Linked DNA regions of Homo sapiens: region 1 is linked to region 2. The links are contacts of gene promoters, found by promoter capture Hi-C in blood cells and fetal thymus (Javierre and others, 2016). All regions are on one chromosome and are shown on one strand. Each heading gives the region's core, a stretch centred on a gene start or on the middle of the fragment in contact. The rest is flanking DNA. Distances are from core to core; before and after follow the strand shown.

Region 1 (3,294 bases), core at 352-2,851, 240 kb before region 2:
TAATTTTTCTTTTTTGAGACTGAGTCTTGCTCTGTCGCCCAGGTTGGAGTGCAGTGATGCAGTCTCGGCTTACTGCAACCTCCACCTCCCAGGTTCAAGTGATTCTCCTGCCTCAGCCTTCCAAGTATCTGGAATTACAGGCATGCACCACCACGCCCAGATAATTTTTGTACTTTTAGTAGGGTTTCACCTTGTTGGTCCGGCTGGTCTCAAACTCCTGACCTCAAATGATCCACCTGCCTCAGCCTCCCAGAGTGCTGGGATTGCAGGCGTGAGCCACCGTGCCCGGCCCCTTTGGCTTTTTAAAGTAGTGATTTTTTTTTTCTTAAAAGTTTTTGTTCTGTTGTGGTAAAATGCCCAAGAAAAATTACCATTTTAAGCACTTAAAAATGTGCAGTTCAGTGGTACATTCATATTGTTGTGTCACCACCACCATCCATCTCCAGAACTTTTTTCATCTTCCCAAACTGAAATTCTATACCCATCAAACAGTAACTCTCCATTCCTCTCTCCCCAACCCCTGACAACCACCATTCTGCTTTCTGTCTCTATGAATTTGACTATTCTAGGTACCTCATATAAGTGAAATTGTACAGTATTTATTAGTGATTTTTAAAAACAAATTTATCTTGGCTGTGTGCAGTGGCTCACTCCTGTAATCCCAGCGCTTTGGGAGGCCGAGGTGGTTTGATCACCTGAGGCCAGGAGTTCGAGACCAGCCTGGCCACATGGTGAAACCCCACTGTTACAAAAAATACAAAATTAGCTGGATGTGGTGGTGTACGCCTGTAATCCCAGCTATTTGGGAGGCTGAGGCATGAGAATTGCTTGAACCCGGGAGGTAGAGGTTGCAGTGAGCTGAGATCATGCCATGTATCTTTATTTGTATATACATTTGTTGTTGTTGTTTTTAACAAAGAGACTAGAGTTGAATTTAGTTTGCTCTGCTTCTGATAGGAGAGAACAAAGCTTTTCAGGTTCCACTTAATCCCAGAGAATATTTTACAGGTTTTTCTTAGGCGTGTTCTCTGGGTGTGGGCTTGTAAGAAAATAAGTTTTTTTTTTCTTTAAGCAGAAAGGATTTAATCCTTTGTAGGGTTTATTTTCAAGAGTTAGTTACGTCTTTTTTACCAAAATGCTTGCAATGGCTATGTTTTAAATGATAGGATTTTTTTCTTTTTCTAGACTTTAATGAATATGTATTACTTTTATAATAAATGAAATTAACTTCAAAATAATTTTTTTGGCCTTCCGTTATAGAAGATTTTAATGAAAACTGTATTGAGACACTTTACCCAAGTTATAGGAAAGGCTAGCCAGTGACTCACAGGAGTGTTCCAGAATGATGAAGAAAGACTTTTCTAGAAAGAAGGTGAATGAATTTGCTCAAGGGGAGAGGGAAGTCACTGTAGCTAGAAGGATAATTACCAGCCAACGGTGTTTAGTCAGCAGACTTTGATGAATTTAGATGAGAAAGTAGATGAGGTATGTGAATGTGATATACCCCTATTTTTTCTTACTTTATTAGCAATCTAAAGACCTAAGTCTTAGTCTAATTTCTGTTGTTTAGATGAAAACCAATAGCTTTTATGTTAAGCAACAGCAAGCCTCTTTGTCAAGAATCTGTTTAGAAAATGTCAGCAGAGACAGGATGTGGTGGCTCATGCCTGTAATTCCAGCACTTTGGGAGGCTGAGGCGGGAGGACTGCTTGAGCCTAGGAGTTTGATAGAAGCTAGGGCCACATAACAAGACTCCGTCTCTACAAAAAATAAAAAATAAAAAGAATTAGCTGGGCGCAGTAGAACACCTGCAGTCCAAGCTACTTGGAGAGCTAAGGTGAGAGGATCACTTGAGCCTGGAGGTCAAAGCTGCAGTTAGCTATGATTGCACCATGCACTCTAGCCTGGTTGACAGAGTGAGATCCTGTTTCAAAAAAAAAGGAAAGGAAAATGTTAGCAGAGAAAAAAATGTGTGTGAATATTTCCCGTTACCTTACAGAGTGTGTCCTCTCATAAAATAAGCTGAGTGTAGTTGGGGTAGAAATTACTGGAAATGATCCAACTCAAGGATTCCGGGTTGTCTAAAACTAGAAAATGGTACTTTTTTTGGATTTATGACGAGAAATACTGTGGGTTTAAGAGGCAACTGGAATGTGCCAGTTAACTCTTCATAGACGCATTGTTTCCTGTGAAGCAGATGAAAAACTAGAGAGATTAGCAGAACCTAATAAAAATAAGCTTGTGGCTGAGTGCAGTGGTTCACGCCTATAATCCCAGCACTTTGGGAGGCCAAGGCAGGTGGATAACCTGAGGTCAGGAGTTCAAGACCAGCCTGGACAACATGGTGAAACCCCATCTCTACTAAAAATACACAAATTAGCCAGGCATGGTGGCACACACCTGTAACCCCAGCTACTTGGGAGGCTGAGGCATGAGAATCACTTGAACCCAGGAGGTGGAGGTTGTAGTGAGCCAAGATTGTGCCACTGTACTCCAACCTGGGGTACAGAGCAAGACTCCATCTTAAAAACAAAACAAAACAAAAAAAACACTTGTGTCTGGATGGTGGGGTACAGTAAGTATTAAGTTTATCTTTGAGGCAATAAAAGAAAGAAATAAGTGGTTTTCTTACATACTGTGCAACCAGATCTGATGCTTCACTTTTTCCATTTCCTCCCTCAGAAGACAAAACTGCTAAGGCCAAGGTCCAACAGACTCCTGATGGATCCCAGCAGAGTCCAGATGGCACACAGCTTCCGTCTGGACACCCCTTGCCTGCCACAAGCCAGGGCACTGCAAGCAAATGCCCTTTCCTGGCAGCACAGATGAATCAGAGAGGCAGCAGTGTCTTCTGCAAAGCCAGTCTTGAGCTTCAGGAGGATGTGCAGGAAATGAATGCCGTGAGGAAAGGTAAGAGATGAGTTGTGAACCATTAGTGGTAGTGAAGGGGTCCTTTTAGTTCTTTTGGGCCCTCAGATTTGTGTATGAGCTATTATTAGGGCAGTATTTATGGAAACACCTTCCTCTTTTAGGGCCAGAGAGGAAGGTCTTCAAGATAGACAGTCAAGGGACTGTATTGCGAAAGTGGGACTTTCTTTCTGGTGCGTGTGTGGGATGTGACCAGCTTTTATAGTTACTACTTAATTTCTGAAAATAACCTGCAGTCTTGAGCTGCCACCAGCTGCCTTTTGTCCCTTTGGTCTTTCCCATCATCTGCTAGGATAAAGATAGAAAATAATGGTTTTACTGCAGTAAGTGCTGGTCCTAGGGCTCCCAAGCCGTGTGTCTTACTGA
Region 2 (3,172 bases), core at 65-2,564:
CGGAACAAGACCACATTCCCCTCAGCCTCTCCAGGGACGAGCGCCATCTCCCCCAGCAGACTGGGCTTCCCAGGGGAAGGTGGTCACCCCTCTGGTTTCCTCAGGAAGGATCTGCCAAGAGCCTGTCTCGGGCCTTCCCTGGGCCCATCCGTGGAGGCCTGAGCCGGCTCACATGTCTAGGGTAGAACACAGGAACCCCCAGGCTGGGATGTGCAAAAAGGGGAGGTGAAACTCCCCCTGGGCTGGGGCGCTTCTTGGGTGCAGGAGCACATGAACAAGCCCACTCTGGGAAGTGGGCTGCAAGGGGGGTCCTCCCCTTCTCTGTGGCCCCAGGACCAAGGGATAGCATGCTGCCTGCTCTCCCGTTGGCCACCCTGGGCAAAAAGTGCCAGTTGAGCCCAGACAGACCCTTCAGCCCCACCCTCTCTGTCACTCTCCCCTGCCTGGTCCCTTCCTCTGTCTCCTCCCCATCTTTATTGAGCTCTCTCAGGGTCTCCATCTGTCCCTTTCTCAGCACTCCCCCTCAGGTGCCTCCCACCGCCACCCTGGTCCTGTCTCCCAGGACCTGCCTCCCTCCCACTCCCCGAGAGCTGTGCAGGGAGAGGCTCCCTCCCCTACAGCTGACCAGGCACCCAAGAGCCCAAGCCACCCAAACAGGGCACACGCACACAAACAGGGCACACGCACCCAAACAGGGCACACGCACACAAACATGGCACACGCACACAAACTCGGCACACGCACCCAAACAGGGCACACGCACACAAACTCGGCACACGCACACAAACACTGCACACGCACCCAAACAGGGCACACGCACACAAACACGGCACATGCACCCAAACAGGGCACACGCACACAAACAGGGCACACGCACACAAACACGGCACACGCAAACTCGGCACACGCACACAAACTCGGCACACGCACACAAACACGGCACACGCAAACTCGGCACACGCACACAAACTCGGCACACGCACACAAACACTGCACATGCACACAAACACGGCACACGCACCCAAACAGGGCACATGCACACAAACACGGCACATGCACCCAAACAGAGCGCACACACACAAACAGGGCACATGCACACAAACAGGGCACGCAGGGGCTGGTACCTCGGTAGGAGAGCCGCAGGCGGGGCACACTGGGGCCGGGGCTGGGGCCAGAGCTACCCCCATGGAGCAGGAGGCCCCCTAGCAGCCAGCAAATGGCCCAGGCCGAGGGGGCCATGCTGGGGAACTGAGGGCACCGCTGCCGCCTGCCTGCAGAGCCGCCCTCTGGTCCCGCTGGCCGCCGGTTGTAGTTTGCTCTGCTGCCACCAGGCCACCACTTATAAGGCAGTGGCTCCACCCAGTCCTGGGCGGGAAGAGGGGCGGAGGAGAGAAGGAGGCTGGGGCCTTGCCGTCCACCTGCCGCTTCTCCTTCCACCTTGTTGGCCCAGTGCAGGCTTTTGTGCCACACTGGCCAGCTCCCCATTGGGAAGACCTTCCCAGCTAGGGCACAGGCCATGTGTACAGAGATGTCCACAAATGCAGGTCCCCAGGCTCCAGCAAAGTGACAAGTGGGGAGAGAGCCTGGAAGGGAGGTCAGGGATCAGAGGTTAAAGTTGATGGGCTGGGTAGGGGCCTAGCTGGGCTCTGCCTTGTTCTCTGCCCCTCCACTGCCCACAGCAGAGACCTTCCAAACTGGCCCTGCCCCAATTCCAGGATATTCCAGCCCCCTGAAGCTTTGGCCAGACTCTCCAGCTCCCCTGGGTAAGGGTGGAGGGCCATTCCCAGCCCAAGGGGCGCCATGTCCTAGACAGGTGTTTGAGGTCCGGCAACACTTCATAGAGCCAGCAAGAGATGACTGCCCAGCCTCTTCCACCCAGGCCTGTCCCCATCTGGCTTCCAGGCACCCCAGCCTCTCCCCACATCTACATGCCCCATCTCAGCTCACCAGGCTTGCTTTGGGGTAGGGGACAGGGGCATCAGGGGACTCCATGCCGAGGGAACCTCCCCTTGCCCTGCCTCCCTCAGGCCTCCAGTCCTTCCAGAGACTCAGGGTCCAGAGCTTCCCCAGGTCAGTGATGGTTCTTCCCAGGGACCCCATGCCCCATAGGCCCTACAGACACCTATGATCTCTTAGAGGTCACTTCCCCCACCCTGAATACTGACTGGGTGGCGGGGGGCACAGAAAGCCACAGAAGAGGGCCAAAGGGGAAATGGGACTGAGGGCCTGAATCTGGGGTGAGTGACGGGACCTCCCCATGCTCCCTGCCCCAGAACAGTCGCCACCTCACCCCACCCCAGAACCCTACACTCAGAACCTGAGGCCCTGGGCACTAAAGAGATTTTAATTTTGAGCTGGAGTTTGAGTTCCCAGGATTCTAACAGCTCCTGCAGGTTGGGCCTCCCACATGGACCGGCCTGGGCCCTCTGATGGTGGTCAGGGAACTTGCGGGGCACTCAGAGAGGGAAGGACCTGGCCCAGGCCACAGAGCAGGCTGAGAATGGGTCCAGCTCAGCTCTGCCCCTTCCTGGGACCCTCCTTTGCTTCTGGGCGTTGTTGGGAGTATGGGGACCCCACCCTCCTCCCCTACCTCAATCCTGAAATGGAAACAGGTTGGCTTCTTGGGTCAGCATGACAGGTCTCAGAGACCTACAACTCTGCCTCCCTGTCCCCAGCTCCCTTCACTCACACATGCCTTCTTCAGCAGGGGGCTGGCCTGGAGGTGGGCAAGGGGCTGCCCACAGAGGCCAGTGATGGAGCTCAGCCCAGCCCTGCCTCTGGCCCTGCTGGAGAGCCTTGGCCAAGGCCCTTCCATCTCTGGGTCTGCCTCTTCCTCCCAGGGCCAGGGACCAGCCACCCTGGGTGTAAGCAGCCTTCATAACCTGATGAGTGGGCTTGCGCAGGGGCTGCTGTCAGGGTGACCATATCCTGGGACCTTGGAGTGGACTGCTTCTGTCTCTGTTTCCCTGGGGAGGTGTGGCCAGCACACTGCCCAAGCTGGGGCCAACTTCTAACTGGAGACTGAGCTAGGCAGCCCTTCAGCCAGCATGTGACCACCAGCGGCGGGCAGGAGGCCCAACACTCCTCAGCCTGCCAGCCCATCCTGGGGTCTCAGCTCAGCCAGACACCCAGCAGGGGCTGCAGGGAAGCCTGGGTCGACTGGGGAAGGGTG

Evidence for each region. Contacts are between HindIII fragments. The CHiCAGO score rates a contact against its expected background, and 5 or more counts as called.
Region 1: a fragment that was not itself captured here is called in contact with the fragment with the promoter of SEMA3G in region 2 in 1 of 17 cell types (total B cells); the score reaches 5.5 in total B cells.

The regions. Positions count from the first base shown.
Region 1 is chr3:52,199,825-52,203,118 of GRCh38, forward strand. ALAS1 (5'-aminolevulinate synthase 1) reads left to right here. Exons shown (of 12, transcript NM_000688.6): 4 at 2,683-2,910. Among named protein-coding and RNA genes, the nearest start is that of ALAS1, 3.3 kb to the left of the region's middle. The HindIII fragment of the contact is 1,269 bases long and covers 968-2,236 here.
Region 2 is chr3:52,443,789-52,446,960 of GRCh38, forward strand. SEMA3G (semaphorin 3G) reads right to left here and starts at 1,315. Exons shown (of 16, transcript NM_020163.3): 1 at 1,125-1,315. The coding sequence starts at 1,239. RefSeq lists enhancers at 412-1,288, 1,289-2,165. The HindIII fragment of the contact is 14,119 bases long and covers 1-1,733 here.